Regions from separate parts of the Homo sapiens genome. Here regions 2, 3, 4 and 5 are each linked to region 1. The links are contacts of gene promoters, found by promoter capture Hi-C in human tissues and cell types (Jung and others, 2019). All regions are on one chromosome and are shown on one strand. Each heading gives the region's core, a stretch centred on a gene start or on the middle of the fragment in contact. The rest is flanking DNA. Distances are from core to core; before and after follow the strand shown. Region 1 holds the start of NBPF1 (NBPF member 1). Region 2 holds the start of MIR3675 (microRNA 3675). Region 3 has its middle 26 kb from the start of RNU1-4. Region 4 overlaps LINC01772 (long intergenic non-protein coding RNA 1772). Region 5 has its middle 24 kb from the start of LINC01772.

What was found. The method cuts DNA at HindIII sites, captures the fragments that hold promoters and counts their contacts. A contact is called where the count stands out against the background at its distance.
Region 2: a contact is called between a fragment that was not itself captured here and the fragment with the promoter of NBPF1 in region 1, in 2 of the 25 tissues and cell types used here (neural progenitor cells and pancreas).
Region 3: a fragment that was not itself captured here is called in contact with the fragment with the promoter of NBPF1 in region 1 in 2 of the 25 tissues and cell types used here (pancreas and psoas muscle).
Region 4: a fragment that was not itself captured here is called in contact with the fragment with the promoter of NBPF1 in region 1 in 1 of the 25 tissues and cell types used here (pancreas).
Region 5: a fragment that was not itself captured here is called in contact with the fragment with the promoter of NBPF1 in region 1 in 2 of the 25 tissues and cell types used here (H1 embryonic stem cells and stomach).

Annotation. Positions count from the first base shown.
Region 1 is chr1:16,612,009-16,615,486 of GRCh38, reverse strand. NBPF1 (NBPF member 1) reads left to right here and starts at 1,923. Exons shown (of 18, transcript NM_001405701.2): 1 at 1,923-2,149. RefSeq lists an enhancer at 1,122-2,079. The HindIII fragment of the contact is 9,860 bases long and covers 1-3,478 here.
Region 2 is chr1:16,856,192-16,859,669 of GRCh38, reverse strand. It overlaps MIR3675 (microRNA 3675), which reads left to right and starts at 649; the gene lies at 649-721. It also overlaps the pseudogene PDE4DIPP9. The HindIII fragment of the contact is 7,627 bases long and covers 1-3,478 here.
Region 3 is chr1:16,765,066-16,768,543 of GRCh38, reverse strand. No RefSeq gene overlaps it. Among named protein-coding and RNA genes, the nearest start is that of RNU1-4, 26 kb to the right of the region's middle. RefSeq lists an enhancer at 2,605-3,105. The HindIII fragment of the contact is 4,732 bases long and covers 1-3,478 here.
Region 4 is chr1:16,461,534-16,465,011 of GRCh38, reverse strand. LINC01772 (long intergenic non-protein coding RNA 1772) reads right to left here. Exons shown (of 2, transcript NR_147210.1): 1 at 1,725-3,478. Among named protein-coding and RNA genes, the nearest start is that of LINC01772, 2.3 kb to the right of the region's middle. The HindIII fragment of the contact is 3,814 bases long and covers 1-3,478 here.
Region 5 is chr1:16,483,295-16,486,772 of GRCh38, reverse strand. It overlaps the pseudogene CROCCP3. Among named protein-coding and RNA genes, the nearest start is that of LINC01772, 24 kb to the right of the region's middle. The HindIII fragment of the contact is 7,677 bases long and covers 1-3,478 here.

The DNA of each region.
Region 1 (3,478 bases), core at 674-3,173:
GTACAGGTGCCCGCCACCACGCCTGGCTAATTTTGCTTGTATTTTATGTAGAGACAGGGTCTCACCAAGTTGCCCAGGTTAGTCTCAAACTCCTGAGCTCAAATGATCTGCGGGCCTTGGCCTCCCAAAGTGCTTGGATTACAGGTATGAGCCACTGTGCCTGGCTCAGTCTTCCTCTCTTAAAGCAACCAATGTTATTAGTTTTATGTGGGCCACCCCATGGCTTATCATTATTAATTCAGGTGTTTATACAAGGCTCTTTGAGAACTCAGTTTTAAAGGTTACCCAAAGCATCCTAAGACAACTCAGCCTAAAACGATATAAAATCAGTTTTAATATAACTGAAGTTTCTACATTCTGACTCCAACTGTCAGATTGTGACATTTTCTCTTTCTCTGACTTTATGCCAAATTTACTTCAACTTCTAGCATCCATCATTCTCATTTATGAACAAATATGTATTTAACAAATGTGGAAATACAAATCATGAAGCAAACAAAACCAAACCCTGGGCTTACGTAGCCGATAGTAAAAAATTCACCAAAATAACCACCCGATTACAGTTTCATGCAATGTGATAGGAGTAAGGGACCACCATAGGGAGGTCAGAAGGTGCTTTTCAGAGGTGGAGACTACAGCTGTTCTCAGAAGAATAGGGGTTAGAAGAACTTTCCAGGCACAGAGCAAAGCATGAGCAAAAGCTCTGTGGAGGCCAGGAAGCTGGTAAATAGGGAATAAAAGAGGCCAGTTTGGCTGGAGCAGAGAGAGCAGAACAGAATTGGTCTGAGTAGTGAGAAGAGATGAAGAAGTGGGCAAGGCGCCTGGCCATTCGGGGCTTGGTTAGTTAGGAGGTTTTGTCTAAGAGAATGGGAAGGTGTTTAAGTGCTTTAGGCTGGGAAGTGACACGGTCACATTATATTTTGGAAAAGCCACTCTGCCTGTTGTGTTGAGATTAGAGAGGCGATAAAGGGGATATGGGTAAACCACAAGAAGACTAGGTCAGTAGTCCCTCGACCCTCACTCCCCAGGTGAAGGCAGCCTAGACTAGGGTGGTGACGGAGGAGATAGAAGAGGACAGATTCAAGGAAAATTTGGAAGGTAAAAACCAGTAGGATTTGCTGACGGATGGAGTATAGGAGGGGAGAGGTAGATTATCAGGGATGTATCTTAGTTTTCTTATACAAGATAGATTCAGTTGCAATGAAATTGTTAACTGAAATTGACTTTAAATAATGGCATGACCTAAAGTTATGCAAACATTTGCCTTAGATAAAATATCAAGTTTTCAAAGTTTTTAGCTGGGTGGACGGCATGGCTTTACTTCCTATTTCTTGGTATTCTAATCCTGTTGAAAAAAAAAGTTTTTCTTTTTCTCAAAGGCTTATTTCAGTGGAAGCCCATCTGCAAAATCTGTTAATAAATTTAAATTAGAAAATAACTACAAGTGCCATTGACACATTGGTTATTCTTTTTGAGAGTGACCTAAGGCCACCTCTGGGAGAGCTGGGGGCTCTTCTGAAGCCTGCCCGACTGCACCGCGTGCCCGTGCCTGGAAGTCAGATTCGGGGCGGTGCGGCAGCGCGAGGCCTGCAGTCCTAAGCGCGGGGTCGCTCCAGCCCCAGAGGGGGTGTGTCTCCTGCCTCTTCAACCTGGCAGGGGCTGTTCAAGTGGCCGGGGAAACCAGCGATTTGGAGGGTCGAGGGCTGGTGCTTTGAAAGACAGGCGGAGGGGAGAGAGGGATTTCCCCGTCCCCGCTGCACTCGGTCCTTCCCCTGGGTTACTCCTTTCCTCCGCCTGCGCGGCCCCTAACCTGCTCGAACCCGTTGTGCAGAAGAGGCCGCCGGGTCCCTTTAAGGCCCCGCCGCGCCTGCGCCTTGGGTTATCCTGACACGCCCATCGGGATCCTGAGGAGCCAGTGGGCTGCAGGCGCAGGCGCAGGCGAGGGGCTGGGTGGCGGTTGAGACAGCGGCGGTACTGGGAGGCGTAGGTGAGGGTCGCGAGGCTGCCCGAGCTTCTGAGCGAGCGCGGTGCTTTTGGGAACGCGGGACGGGCGATCTGCGGCGCCAGGAGCTGGGCCGAGGCGCGGCGGCGCGGCTGCCGGCTGCCCTGTGAATGGGAAGTTACGCGAAGTCCACCCAGCGTTTCTGAGGTGAGGGCGCCGCGCCAGGCTGGGCGGGCGGTGAATCCGGGACCCGCGGGCGCACAGCTGGGTCGAGGCGCGGCCGTGGCAAGTTTTGTTGCGCGAGCGCGGGGGCGGGTGGGGGCTGTGGGGGGTCGTGCACCGCCGGGGCCTGAGTTCCCCGCGCTGGATTCTTCGCCTGCCGCTGCCGCCCGCAGCCCAACTCTCGTGGGCGCTGGGGAAGAAACTCGCTGGCGGGTGTTCTGTGGCATCCCAGGGGGTGGAGGGACGGAGCAGCTTCGGGGGCACGTCCTCCTATATCCTGTAGAGGACACTGACCCCGCACCCCACCCTCCAGGCCAGAAATCCGTTCCCTCTGCGGACCTGAGAGGCGAGCGCGCTCGCGCCCCTGACTTGCAAAGTTGGGGTCTTTACTGGCCTCCGGGCTTCTGCTCCTGGCGGTGTCTCCAGGCTGGTGATGGGCAAGCCAGGTGTGCCAGCTCCAGGATGCACATGAGCAGCATTTGTAGCCATCACTGAATCACCTCCTGACTAGCGGGGCAAGCCTCAAATGAACCGCAGGATTTCGGGTAGATTGGATTGTGGGGTTGCTGTTTGCACTCCAAAGAGTTGCTGTGATTTCCCTGCGTCTGGCTGGCTGGCTGGCTTCTTAGATCATCTCATGTGGCGTCCTTTCAGCGGAGAGTTAACCAAGACGTTTGGCCTGGCTTCCTTGTTTTCCTCCTATCTTTTGCTTAGAGCTGCTTTCGAAAAGAAGTCTTTTCTGGCAGTGGTATCTTTTCTTTGGGTTACAGTGTTGTTCATCCTTTCTTTGCCAAAAGAATGAATCCCAGTGCTTCAGGAAGTTAAAGAAAAGATCTGCTGGTAGTGTTCTGAGCTGATATGCGTTAGTAGCTTTTTGTTTTTAAATTCTATTGGTAAAATTTCACTAGTGAACCAGAAGCTACTTTTTCTATTCTGAAATGCTAGCTTTAAGATTTCTGAGAACTTTGCGTCAAAGAAATCTTGGAAAAGTTACTGAAGTATACAGAAGTTCACAATTTTACATGTGCAGGTGGCCCGGGCGCAGTGATCACACCTGTAATCCCAGCACTTTGGGACGCCAAGGTGGGTAGATCACTTGAGCCCAGGATTTCCAGACCAGCCTGGGCAATGTGGCAAAACCCTTTCTCTACTAAAAATACAGAAGTTAGCTGTGTGTGGTGGCGTGTGCCTGTAGTCCCAGCTACCCGGTAGGCTGAGTTGGGAGGATCACCAGAGCCCGGGAGGTTGAGATTGCAGTGAGCCGTGATCATGGCAGTGCACTCCGACCTGGATGGCAGAGTGAGACCCTGTCTC
Region 2 (3,478 bases), core at 450-2,949, 240 kb before region 1:
GGCGCGAGCTGCGCCTGTTTCCTCACGGACCCTTTGGCCTCAGCGCCTCGACGTCTTGCAATTGTTAGCTCACGGCTCTTCCTCCTATAACAAGGCCCTTCCATGTCATGTCCCCTACTCCCTCTTAGCACCAGAGAGATGCCGCCCCTGCCCCACAGGTCACATTCCATGAGTGGTGAAGTTTCTAGAGTTGTAACCATGGCATCTCCAGCCCTGTGTGTTCCTCTCCATGCTCCCCATTGAGCAGTCTTGATCCTGTATTAGCCCCAGGAAATGAAATAGAAACAGGACCCTACGTTAAAAAGTTGCAGTGGAGATGTGGTGGCCACCAGGGGCTGGAACTGTGGGGTGACTGAGAGTATCCAAAGCCCTGTGGCCAACCTACTGGTGCTGAGTGTGCTGGTGAGCCTCTCTGTCAGCTGGCTTCCCCGGGCCAGTTGCTCCCGGAAGCTCTGTCCCAGGTAGTAGTCAATGTCATTGCTCCTTAAGAGATCCTCAAAAGATTTTACTGTATCTTTTGCATGCTGGGTGAGAAGATAACAAACACCTCTCCCTTCTCGTATTTTTTGCCGTAGGTAAGACAGTTCCCGGGGCTGATCCTGAATCAGGGAATCATATTTCCTAATGCAGGACAGAAGAGGAAAGGGTGGATGATAAGTTATGGGGCTTCTGTAGAGATTTCTATGAGAACATCTCTAAGGAACTCCCCCAAACTGAATTCTGGCACGTAAGCCATAGGAGGTATTTAAGAGTAAATTCTACCCTGATAAATTATTGCACTAAAAATTTAGTATGGGCCGGGCGTGGTGACTGACGCCTGTAATCCCAGCACTTTGGGAGGCTGAGGCAGGCAGATCACAAGGTCAGAAGTTCGAGACCAGCCTGGCCAATATGGTGAAACCCCCTCCTCTACTAAAAACACACAAAAAAACTAGCTGGGCATGGTGGCACATGCCTGTAATCCCAGCTACTTGGGAGGCTGAGGGAGGAGAATTGCTTGAACCTGGGAGGGAGAGGTTGCAGTGAGCCGAGATGGCACCACTGCACTCCAGCCTGGGTGACAGAGTGAGACTCTGTATCAAAACAAAACAAAACAAAAAATTTACCATGCCACTGTTCTTCAACTGTTCTATATATGTTAATTATATGTCCCTAGATAAATCGTAAGGTCTGTGAGAATGAAGATAGTTCTGCGTTTCACATCCCTTACAGCACCAGCATCACAGAGATTCACAGCAGATACTCAATGAATAATTAGACTCATCTCATCCTAAGTCTAGATAGGACCTTTCATGTCTTCTGTTTTAACCACCACCTGATGTCTGAATTTCTTCTGTGTTGTGATACTGTGGCTGACTGTATTTTGCAATCATGGCCATCACATAAACTCTCATGCCATCAACTGATGAGACCCAAAACAAGAGACCCTAAGTGAGAGCCACCCAGCTGAGCCCAGTCAAACCACAGAACCATGAAGCATAATAAAGTACTGTTTGAAGTCACTAAGTTTTAGAGTGGTTCTTACTTAGCAGTAGATAACCAGGACGCATACCAAGATGAATGTCTGTGTTTTCAACACAAAGTGTCAATAACACTGATAACTATGGCAAATAGCATTGAGAGCTTAATGTATGCTGGGCACCATTCTAAGCACTTGTACTAATTTTTTTTTTTTTTTGAGACAGAGTCTTGCTCTGTCACCCAGGCTGGGGTGCAGTGGTACCATCTCGGCTCACTGCATCCTCCACTTCCCAGGTTCAAGCGATTCTCCTGCCTCAGCCTCCTGAGTAGCTGGGATTACAGGGGTGCACCACCATGCCCACCTAATTTTTATATTTTTAGTAGAGACAGGGTTTCACCATGTTGGGTAGCCTGGTCTCGAACTCCTGACCTCGGGTGTTCTGCCCACCTCAGCCTCCCAAAATGTTGGGATTACAGGCATGAGCCACCACACCTGGCCAGCACTTGTATTAATTCATTTAAACCTAATATCCACCCTTTGAGATGGGTTCTGTTATCATCCTCATTTAATAGGTAATGACAAAGGCTCAGAAAGGTTAAGAAGGTTGCATGGGTAGTAAGCATCAGAGCTAGGCAGTCTGATTCCAGTATTACCACTATACTATGCTATACTATACTATACTATACTATACTATACTATACTATACTATACCATATGTACTATTACTTTACTGATATATCCCTAAGAGGAAATCCCTGAGATCTGGTATCTCCCAGATACTGGGACATCATCCTATGCCCTCCTGCTTGCCTACCTGTCTTTTCCACAGACCTATATCTACCATTTAAATCAGTGTCCTTGTGAATACCCAGACATGTTGTTTCTTCCAACTGCCTGAGCTACCCTACACCAAGCACAAACTTACACATTTTCAATCCAGAAAGTGCCCAGACAGTGCCATCCTTACCCAGGCCATGAGGCTGATCTCAGCTCCTCAGCCAGCTTCCCTTCTAGTCAATTTTTTGGGAGCTGGGCCTCCAGCTGGGATACTCTCTGGATGAGACTCTTCAGGTCCTTTTTGGCCTGAAGTCCTGGAGAGTAGAAAGCCCCAGTGCCATCAGACAGCCACACCTCATCCTCATCAGTGACACTATGAGGTGAAGACCCCTCCAGGGTGTCAGGAGCTCTCAGCTTCCAGGGTCTTTCCAGACTAGATGAATAATCACTTGTAACTGAGAGGGACTGGACCTGGCTCTTGAAGTTTTGAATGACCTTGTTGGCATTCTGCAGCTGGGCCTTCAGATCTTTGATGTCCTTTCATAGGACCCAGATGTTTTCTGACTTTCCATATACCCAGAACTCTTCCTGCTTCCCTAGTTCATTCTCCAAGGGCTTCCTCTCAGAGGAACTAGCCAGCGTTCAGCCCCGGCGCCCCTGCTCAGAGCACAGCCCCTCCACCAGGACCATTTCCTTGCGGCTGCTGTGCTCCTCATGCTCTGAAAAAAGACAAAGATGTCTTCCTGAATAAAAGTTGGATGTGCTGTTGTGGCCACTGCCTTTGAGAGGAGGCAGGTTTGGTCATGAGGATAATAATTACTAGGGAAAAAGGTGAAGTCGTACTTTATTCAACCCTGACACTGTACTAGGCATTCAAATACAGTATTTCTTATCCTCCTTATACCCACAAGTTAGGTTTCACCACTCTCTATTTTACTGACTGGGGAAACCAAAACTTAAAGAGAGGTGGTAAACCAGCTTGTTCTAGATCACTCAAACTAGCACGTGGCAGAGCCTGAATTCAAATCCTCCAACATCCTGTGTTCATTCCACACACACTGATGTTTCTCAAGACATTATTAACATGGCCTTATCTAGTTAGGATAGCCACAAGAATGTAGGACAAGCTATTTCTGCATGCTGCAAGTTTAATGCTCTCTAAAGTTTACTATAATTTAAAAGTTTATTGGGTTATAACTGTGTGAAAAATAGGCAAAGGAAAATAAGAGTTTGAATAAA
Region 3 (3,478 bases), core at 706-3,205, 150 kb before region 1:
TAAACAGGCAGGAACACCTGATTCATCAGGATTCTTCCCACTGCTCCAATCCAGGGGTCTCTGCTTCAGACAGAACCCCTAGGAAGAGAAGCATGTGACTTAGGACTTCAGGGGGACTCGAAGTGCAAATACATTATGGCACAGATTTAAATGTTTACCTGTATATGTGTATGTTAAAAAATCAATTTCTTAGAGATGGTTTCAAGGTGTCAGAAAAGCTAATTCAGGTAGAAAACATGTCCTTGCTCTGTAGATGCCTCCATTCTGTCTTCCAGAACCTGAGAGAGAAGAGCAAGGATTTGGACTGTGGCCTAGAGAGGGAATTTGCAGCTCTCTTTCCCAAGGAATGAATCGCAGCCCCTCAGGCTGGAACAGGCAGGTGCTGCGAAATCTGGCTGACAGGTCAGCTTCAAGGTGATGTGCTTGCTGAGTCTTCTCTCCTTTCAGCTAAGCTCTCATCACGCCCCTGGTGCCTGGTAAAAGTAAATAATGATGACTGAGCGTATGAAGCAGGAGGGTCTCTACACACCTGTAATTACTACCTAGCAAGTCCCTGCAGAACCCAGGAGTTCCCCCAGAGAGCCAGTGGGGCCGTTTCTGGAGAGAGTAAGTCAACGTGGGTCCTCCAGGCAAGATCTAGCTGGAGGAAGTAGAATTAAAACTTCTATCACTGGACGGATGTTTTGTCACTTGGCGGGAAAGTTCCAAGTCAAAGTTCCCAGTTTCCTAAGCTGTTATAAACCCGGTTGAAATGCTCACATACACCTGTGAGTGTCTCAAAACAAACAAAGCATAATCGCCTTAGAGCAGCACTGTCTCATAGAAATATAATGTGAACTACATGTTATTTAAAATTCTCTAGAAGCCACTTTTAAAAAGAAACAGGTGAGATGAATTTTAATAATACGTTTAACTTAACCAACCCAAAACATTATCACTTCCTCATGTAATCAATATAAAAAATTGCTGGTGAGATATTTTACCAAGTCTTCAAAATCTGGATGTATATTACATTTTCGGCACATCTCACTGTGGACGAGGCATGCTTCAGGTGCTAAGAGCCACACAAGCTGTGTGCCATGTTGGACACTGCAGCCTTTGAGGCTGACATTTACACCTCACCACCTTTTGAGAGCACCTGATGCATGATAGATTTCCCACAAACATTTCATATAGAAGAGTGAACCTGTTATATGTGAAGTTTTACTTGATCTGAATATACTAGTGCTCTTAATAAAATAAGAATTACTAAAAAATTTCCTTTGAATAGTGCCAGGCGGGTCTGAAACCCAGCCTTGACTGATATTTTCATGTGCTGATAACAGCAACCAAAGTATCGTGACTTCGGTTAATAATTGATTGCTCCTTGCAGGGGAAAAATAAATAAAACCGGAATCTGACTGCTCCACCCCTTAGGGCAGCTTACTAACGTCTGGATGAGCATGCTTGTGTTCTTGCACTCTCTGGGAATTAGACACAAAAACTGCCCTCAAGGACAGCACAGCCCAGGGACAGCCAGGCAGACCAATGCCTAATACTGCATGTGTGCAGGGGGTTGTGTTGGCAACAACATGAGTGGCTTTCCTGGAGTGGAGGCTCCAGCTCTGCATCCTGAAGAGGGACTAGGAGGTCCTCAGGGAGGAGGGCAGGAAGGAAACATCCAGTGGAGGAAGCGGTAGGCACAGAAGTTTGCAGCCACTTGAAAAGCAGGGAGGCACAGGACCTTAGGACCCTTCTATAGCAGTCCCGTAAGCCCAGAGGGAACCATTTCAGAGTGGGACAATCTACGGCAGCGTTGTCCGACCAAAATACTTGCAAGCCACATGTGTGATGGATTTCAGGAGCCACTGAAGGGTCAAAAGACAGAGATACAATTAATTGTAATGACCTGTTTTTAGCTTAACCCACGTTGTCCAAAGCTTTATCATGTCACCGTGTGAGATACCTCACGTTCTTTTTCATGAAGTCTTTGAAATGTGAGGTGTCCTTGACACCAAGAAGGCATGCATGAGTCTAGATGCAGTGTGTATATATAGTGAGTAGTAACCTCTGCTCACGTTCCTGGGTCCAAAAGAGAGATCAGGACAGCTTCAAGGGAGAGGGCTAGGGATGAAAAAGGAGATAATGTCGCCCACCACTTCTGAGGGGACAACAGACTGCGCCAGGCGCTGTAACCCGGGGGAAACGGAGGCAGCAGCTTCTCCCACGTGCTCCCAAAGGTGTCCGTGTCAACAGCATTAACTACCAAACAGAGCACTGAGGAACATTTGCTAAATGCTGCCAAGTGCCCGGACACCAGATCACAAGGCTGGCCCAGAAAAGAGCAAGTGCACCTGTGGGGGAGGAGGGCAAGTCCCCGTCGTCGGTCATCCCAGGTCACAGGGGTGCCTTTCCCTCCACTGCCAGGGAAATGCACATGCAGGCTGCCTAATGTGGAAATGTTTGGATCTGGAACAGAGAGGCTCTCAGGCCGGCGGGGAGGAGGCAGGGTGACAGTAACCAGCCGCACCGGAATGACGATGGGGAGCGCTGCACCTACGGCTTGCCAAGACCCCAGCAATATCTTTCCTACTAAGTCTAGCAGTGCCTGAGGCTCGCCTCCGAAGAACAGCCTCTCCCTTCCGCCTCTGTCTTCTTTAAGGGAGAGGGAGTGCAAGCCAAACCCAGCAAGCACTTGGACGCCGCCCTGCTCTCCCCGGGGCTCTGGGCTCTGCAACAGATCCGCTTTGTGAATGAAAGAGGCATCTCTCCAAGATGGCGCGCTCTACCCTGAGGGCACACCATGCACACGCCACTCCTCCAGCTGGTCTCGGGGACTGCAGTCCTTCTCTCCTGGATGGGTTGGGGGTGGGGGGCTGTTGAGAGCTTTCCTCCTCCTTTTCTTCTTCCTCCTCCTCCTGTCTCCCTAACCCTGGAAGGGGGCCATCCACTGAACTTCGGAAAGAGGTCACCCTCCCTGAAAAGGGGACTTGGATTGCTGCATCCAGAGCCACCCCCTGTGGTCCCTCAATCTAGCCACACTCAGTTGCTAAAGCAGGGAGAGGTTTCCTAGTCCGGTGTTCCGGCCCCACGCAAACGGAGCTCAGGATGACGCCACATGTGTGTTTGAGTCAAAGCGCTTTTAACTGTGGCTCCAAGAACAGCCTGTACAGCCACTTGAGTTTCCCCGTAACAAGGAATGTACAATAGATGAGACTTTACTGGCAAAACAATTTTTAAAAGTAAAGGGAGAAGCAGCAGCCCAGCCTTGTCTCTTTATAGGGTCCTAGAGAACCGGTGGTGGCTGGGTTGAAAAGCACAGCGCTTAGCCATTCAGCAGTTTATGACCTCAGTTTACCAAGTCCTTGTAACAAGGTTACCGGAGGGGTTTTGCAAGCTTGTAGACCCAGGTGTGGCTGAAGTTGAGCTGCTCAGGGACAGTGGTTTTCTTGCCATTGGGAGAAGGTTACCAAGAATAATTTTCCTGCCCCAGGACTTG
Region 4 (3,478 bases), core at 478-2,977, 150 kb after region 1:
ACAGTGCGGCCTCGACTGACACCTTGACTGCAGCCTGTGAGAGGCCTGTGACCCAGCTGAGCTGCACCAGATTCCTGACCACAGAAGCGGAGATGACAAATGCAGGTCATTTTGGGCGGGTGTGGTGGCTCATGCCTGTAATCCCAGCACTTTGGGAGGCTGAGGTAGGCGGATCACCTGAGGTCAGGAGTTTGAGACCAGCCTGGCCAACAGGATGAAACCTTGTCTCTACTAAAAATACAAAAATTAGCCAGGCATGGTGGCGGAAGCCTGTAATCCCAGCTACTTGGGAGGCTGAGGCAGGAGAATCGCTTAAACCTGGGAGGTGGAGGTTGCAGTGAGCTAAGATTGCACCATTGCACTCTAGCCTGGGCAACAAGAGTGAAAATCTGTCTCAAAAAAAAATAAAAATACAAATAAATAAAGTACCTACTTACAGGCTTTGTATGGTTGGCTAAAAAAAAAAAAAAAAAAAAAAGAAAAAAAAAAAAAAACAGTATCTGTCTACATTCAAGCTGCGGTGAGGAAAAATTGGTCTTTTCCCTACTCCAGTCCACTCAGTCCACAGAGCATGGTATCTTTCTCACTCCCAGCTCATAGAAATCGACAACTATTAAGCACCTACTGTGTGCCCATGATGCATTTCAGTAGCTTTCAATCACCAATGGAATAAAGCCCCACCCTTCGCCTGTCATTCCTACTTGCCACGGCTTTCGTAAGCCATGTGGAGGGAATGGGACTTTTCATATATTAAGGGGGTCTTATGTGCCAGGCTTTGCAGGGAGCACTGCTCCAAAGAAGTAGCCACCCTGACTAAAAGCATGGATGCTGGAGCCAGACTGCCTGGGTTCAAATCCCAGCTCTGCCACTTACCAACCATGTGACTTTGAACAAATTATATAATTTCTCTGCATTTCTCATTTTCGAAACAGGGATGAGTACTGCTATAAACATTTGTGTCCACCCCCACCTCCAAATTCATACTGAAACCTAACCCCTAGTATGATGGTATTTGGAGGTGAGTTCTTTGGAAGGTAATTATGTCATAAGCGTAGAGCCCTCACAAACAGTATTGCCCTTATAAGGAAGCCCCAGCCAGGTGTGGTGGCTCACGCCTATAATCCCAGCACTTTGGGAGGCTGAGGCAGGTGGATCATGAGGTCAGGAGTTTGAGACCAGCCTGGCCAATAAGGCAAAACACCATCTTGACTAAAAATACAAAAATTAGCTGGGCGTGGTGGCATGTGCCTGTAGTCCCAGCTACTTGGGAGGCTAAGGCAGGAGAATTGCTTGAACCCAACAGGCAGAGGTTATAGTGAGCCAAGATCACACTCCAGCCTGGGCAATAAGAGCAAAACTATCTTTAAAAAAAAAAAAGGCAGTGCCATTCCCATGTGGTGGCTCATGCCTTTAAGCCCAGCACTTTGGGCGGCCAAAGCAGGAGGATCACTTGAGGCCAGGAGTTTGAGATCAGCCTGGTCAATATAGCAAGACTCCATCTCTTAAAAAAAAAAAAAAAAAAAAAAAAAAGTCCCCAGAGTACTCTATTGCCCCTTCTACCATGTGAGGTTACAGCAAAAAGACGGCCTCACCAGACACCGAATCTGCTGGTGCCTTGGACTTCCCAGCCTCCAGAACTGTGAGCAAAAAATTTCTTTTGTTTATAAACTACCCAGGCTATGTTATTCTGTCATAGTCCCAAATAGACTAAAACAAGTACTTACTGGCCAGGTGCGGTGGCTCACACTTGTAATCCCAGCATTTTAGGAGGCCAAGGCAGGCTGATCACTTGAGGTCAGGAATTTGAGACCAGCCTGGCCAACATGATGAAACCCCGTCTCTACTAAAAATCAAAAAAATTAGCCGGAAGTACTGGCACACGTCTGTAATCACAACTACTCGGAGGCTGAGGCAGAAGAACTGCTTGAACGCAGGAGGCAGAGGTTGCAGTGAGCTGAGATCATGCCACTGCATTCCAGCCTGGGCCACAGAGCGAGACTGTCTCAAAACACAAAAAAAACAAGTCCTTACCTCATGGGGTTGTAGAGATGATGCAATGAGTTTTATAAGTGCATAGAATAGTGCCTAGCAGAGAGTTAAGCATTACTTTAGCAATAAACAATAAGCATTACTTAAAGGCAACAGGAAGGCCCAAAGGAGCATCATAAGGGACCTCCCAAGGCCCTACAGCTATTAAGTCTATCCAGATTCTCTCTTTTCCACACTGATTCCCACCTCAAACACACTTTGCTAACCTTTGTGTTGGTTATCTATTGCTGCATAACCTTACCAGAAACTTAGCGACTTAACACAATACATTTACCATCTGTTCCTATGGGACAGTCTGGGCACAGCTTAGCTGGTCCTCTGCAAGGCTGCAGTCAGTGTTGGTCAGGCCTGGGGTCTCACCTGAAGGCTTACCTGGGAGTGATCAGCCTCCAAGCTTGTGTGGTTGCTGGCAGCATTTGCTTTCTTGCAGACTGCTGGACTGAGCTTCAGTTTCTTGTTGGCTGTCAGAGGCTACCTCAGTTCCTAGCCACCTGACCCTCTCCCAAGGGCAGCTCACACAACATGACAGCTTCCTTCTTCAAAGCCAGCAAGAGAATTTCTCAGCAAGGCAGATGTTGCAGTCTTACATAAGGCAACCATGAAAATAACATCTTGTCACCTTTGTGGCACTCTACTGGTTAGCAGTCACAGGTCTAGGCCATCTCAAGGGGCAGGGAGTACATAAGGCTGTGAACAGCAGGTGGGGATCACAGTGACCACCTGGGAGTCTATCTGCCACACCTCCCAGTGCATCCAAATTCTGTTGTGCAGAGGGCAAGTGAGGTCTAGCATACCCCCCAAGAAAGCAGCCATCTTCTACCATCCACCCACCAGTTTGTAAACTCCAGTCAGGGGTGTAATTGAAGTGATGCCTGGTTTGGGATTGAGTTTTCCTGGAGATTCTGGTCCTGTAATGAGTTTTTTCCAGCTGGGATTCCAGTTAGTGATGGACAGCATCAAGCTGTCCCTTGCTCCTGGCCCCAGACCCCACAAGGTGCTTTTCAGGCTAGATTCCTGAGGGCTGTGTCATCAGCTGTGCCACCTCCTCCTCCCTACCATGATGAACTGTTCTGGGTACTTACCTGACTCCAGAGAAAGGTCATTAAGGTCAAACAATGCAATGTGCATCTGCTAGTGCCTCATCCGAGTGACGCTCAGGTGAAGGAACAGCCTGTGGCCACACGTCTAACCAGGGGATAGCCTAGATCCTAAGGCCAGGTCTGTCTCCACAATCCAAGTGCTGATCTTCAATGGTACATACTTTTTTTTTTTTTCCTTTTGAGACAGTCTTGCTCTGTTGCCCAGGCTAGAGTACAGTGGCATGATCTCAGCTCACTGCAACCTCCACTTCCTGGAGGCAATTCTCATGCCTCAGCTTCTCAAGTAGCTGGGATTACAGGCGTGCGCCACCATGCCTGGCTAATTGTTG
Region 5 (3,478 bases), core at 643-3,142, 130 kb after region 1:
CCAAAATGCTGGGATTATAGGTGTGAGCCACCACGCCTGGCCTCAGCGTAGTTTTAATTTGTAGTTGGGAGCGAGCCCCATCCCATCCCCATCCTGTGCTCTCTCCCAAAGGACCTGCTGCAGCTGGGAGGGGAGCTGGCCCGGACATCACGAGCTGTCCAGGAGGCGGGCCTGGGACTGAGCACGGGCCTGTGGCTGGCAGAGAGCCGGGCCAAGGCAGCCCTGGAGAAGCAGGCCCTGCTGCAGGCCCAGCTGGAGGAGCAGCTGCGGGACAAGGTGCTCCACTAGAAGGACCTGGCCCAGCAGCAGATGCAAAGTGACCTGGACAAGGCTGACCTCAGTGCCAGGTGGGTCCCTGGTGGGTGCCACATGGGGCAGGCGTCCTTGCAGAAGGTAAAACTGGAGAGTTGGGGAGAAGGGAGCATCTGTTCACTAGGAGCAGGGCCTTCCTCTGTGAGCTCAGCCAGTCTTCCCAGGCACCCAACTGAGTTTCTGAGGCACTTGCCCAGTGTATATCATAAACAGCTTAGCCTCTTATGACAGAACTTGTGGCCGGGATCACACCTGTAATCCCAGCACTTTGGGAGGCCAAGGTGGGGCATTACCTGAGGTCAGGAGCTCAAGACCAGCCTGCCTAACAGGCGAAACCCTGTCTCTACTAAAAATACAAAACTTAGCCGGGTGTGGTGGTGTGTGCCTCTAATCCCAGCTACGAGGGAGGCTGAGACAGGAGAATCGCTTGAACCCAGGATGTGGAGGTTGCAGTGAGCCAAGATCACATCGCTGTATTCCGGCCTGGATGACACAGCGAAACTCTGTCTCAAAAGAAAACCACAAAAAAACAACTTGTGCCCCTTACTCCTGCTACCTGGACAAGTCCTCCAGTGTTTTCCCATGAGATAAAGCTGGTGGGAACCTCATTCCCATTTCACAGATGAGAAGTGTGAGGTCTGGAGAGGAGCCACAACTTGTTTAAGGTCACACAGCCAGGGAGGTGGATGTTAGGGTCCCTCCCTCGGGTTTGGAGAAGCATGGTGGACACAGAGCTAGTGGATTTGAGAGGCTGGGGTGGTCCCGTATTCACCTCTGTTGCTCCCCCAACTCCAGAGTGACAGAGCTGGGCCTGGCAGTGAAGCGTCTTCAGAAGCAGAATCCGGAGAAGGATCAGGTCAACACGGACCTCACTGAGAAGCTTGAGGCCCTGGTGAGCTGCAGCTGCCCCTGAGATGGGGCAGGGTGGGATGGGGTACCGGCCAGATCCATGGACGCAGGCTTAGGGCTGGGCTGCCTGGACCACCCCCAGCATCCCACTCACACTCAGGTTCAGCCCTCACAGGTGTGCAGGCTTTGTGGTAAGAACATTCACCTCCTCCATCCCATTTCTTCCTCCCAGCAGCCCTGTAGCATAATCCTCATGACACAGATGGGGAAACTGAGGCCCAAGAGGGGAAATGCTTGTCCAGTCTCAGAGCCAGTAAGCTGGAGAGTCGGGACTTGAACTCCCATCCGTGCTCTCCAGGTCCAGATGCTGCCTCTGGAATCCCAGCTGCCCATCCCCACTAGTGGGACACTCACTCCCCCAGGGTACAGCCTGGTTTGGTCACCCCTCTGTGTGGGGCCTGGCCTGGGTTCTAGGTCCGGCTCTCCTCCAATCGACTGTGTGACCTGGGGCAGGACACAGCTGTTCTCTGCGCCTGGTCTGTTCATTGAGGGCCTCGGGCCTGCTGTGGGGTCTACCAGATGTCTGGCCTATGGACATAGCTTCAGAGGCCACCTGGTCAGTGGTGGACCAGGAAGGGAGGGGAATGGGAGGTTTCAGATAAGACAGAACCAGGACCACCCTTTGTCTCCCTAACTACACTCCAGGAATCCCTGCGGCTACAGGAGCAGGTGGCCCTGGAGACAGAGGACGGAGAGGGGCTACAGCAGAGCCTAAGGGACCTGGCACAGGTGTGAGCCCAAAGAGGTGGGAAGACAGGGCACTGCCAGGCAGTCCTGGGCTCCCCCGCCACGACTTTTGGTGGCCTGGGACTGAACTGCAAATGGGTGGGGGCCTGGGACCCAGGCTGTAGCTGCTCAGCACCCCCGGCCCTGGGGAGCCCCCAGTCTCAGAGGGGAGGCACGGCCCTTTTGGAGGCCACCTGTGAGCTGAGGACTGAGCTAGCGGAGGAGGTGAAATCAGGAAGGATTCTTGTAAGAGGGAGCATTTGGGATGAGGCGGCCCCCAGCCTCACCTGGGCGTCTTTGCCAGCTAACACTGCGGTTCCTAACTCTGAGGCCTTCTTCTGCCTGCCTCCCCTACCCTCAGTCCGTCCTGTCGGACACAGAGCGGCGTCCAGCTGAGCGGCTCCGAGCGCACCGCGGATGACTCCTTCGGCAGCCTGCGGGGGCTCTCGGCCCAGCAGACCCCGTCCCCACCGCGGCGCTCCTCGCCCGGCCGAGGCCGTTCACCCCGCCGAGGCCCCTCCCCGGCCTGCTCAGACTCCTCCACGCTCGCCCTGATCCACTCCACCTTACACAAGCACGAGCTGCAGGTCCAGGTAGGAAGGGGCTTGAGCGTTCTGGGCTCAGCCAGAGGCCTGGAGGGAGCGTCTGGCGCCCTCCGGGTAGGGGCGGGGCGGGGGCAGGTCCGGGGCCAGGGTCCGGGGGAGGAGTCCGAGCGCCTTGGGGTGCAGCCAGAGCTCTGAGAAAGTGTCTGAGGGTGTCAGGATCCCGAAGGAGGTGGCCGAGAGCTCTGCGGTGAAGCCAGCCCAGAAGTAGGGGTGCTTGGGCAGCTGGGGGTGGGCGCTTGGGCAGGTGGAGGGAGGAGGCTGCGGCAGTGTTAGGGTCCTGGTAGAGAGGGAGACAGGTCCCTGGTCTACAGAGCCAGGACCCTGGGAAAAGGTCTAGCAAGGGGAATCAGAGCTTGGGAACTAGGGGCAGAGCCAGGGTAGGGAGGAGTCTGAGAGTGGAACCAGGATGCAAGGAGGAGGAGCCTGGGAGCCCTGGGGGTGGGGTCAGAACCCAGGAGACGAGTGTGCCTGGGGGTTTGTCTGGCATCCGGGGGGCTTTGATAGGAGTTGTCCGGGACCCCAGGGAGGTGAGGGCTCAGAGGGTGGTGAGGGCACATAGGAGGGGAGCGGGAGCCTGGCTCTCAGGCCTAGGCCCCTATCCTGCCCCAGGCCAGGTCCAGGCCCTGGACCCCGCCTAGCGTAGGCTAGTGTGTATCCCTGGAACCAGAAGAGAGTAGGTGGGCTCTGGAGGCCTCAAAGGACCCCCGCTAGACTCTGTGATCCCCGCGCCCCAGGACATGCGTGGGCGCTATGAGGCAAGCCAGGACCTGCTGGGCACCCTGCGGAAGCAGCTTAGCGACAGCGAGAGTGAGCGGCGGGCCCTAGAGGAACAGCTGCAGCGCCTGCGGGACAAGACCGACAGCACCATGCAGGCCCACGAGGACGCCCAGCGCGAGGTGCAGCGGCTGCGGAGCGCCAAAGAGCTC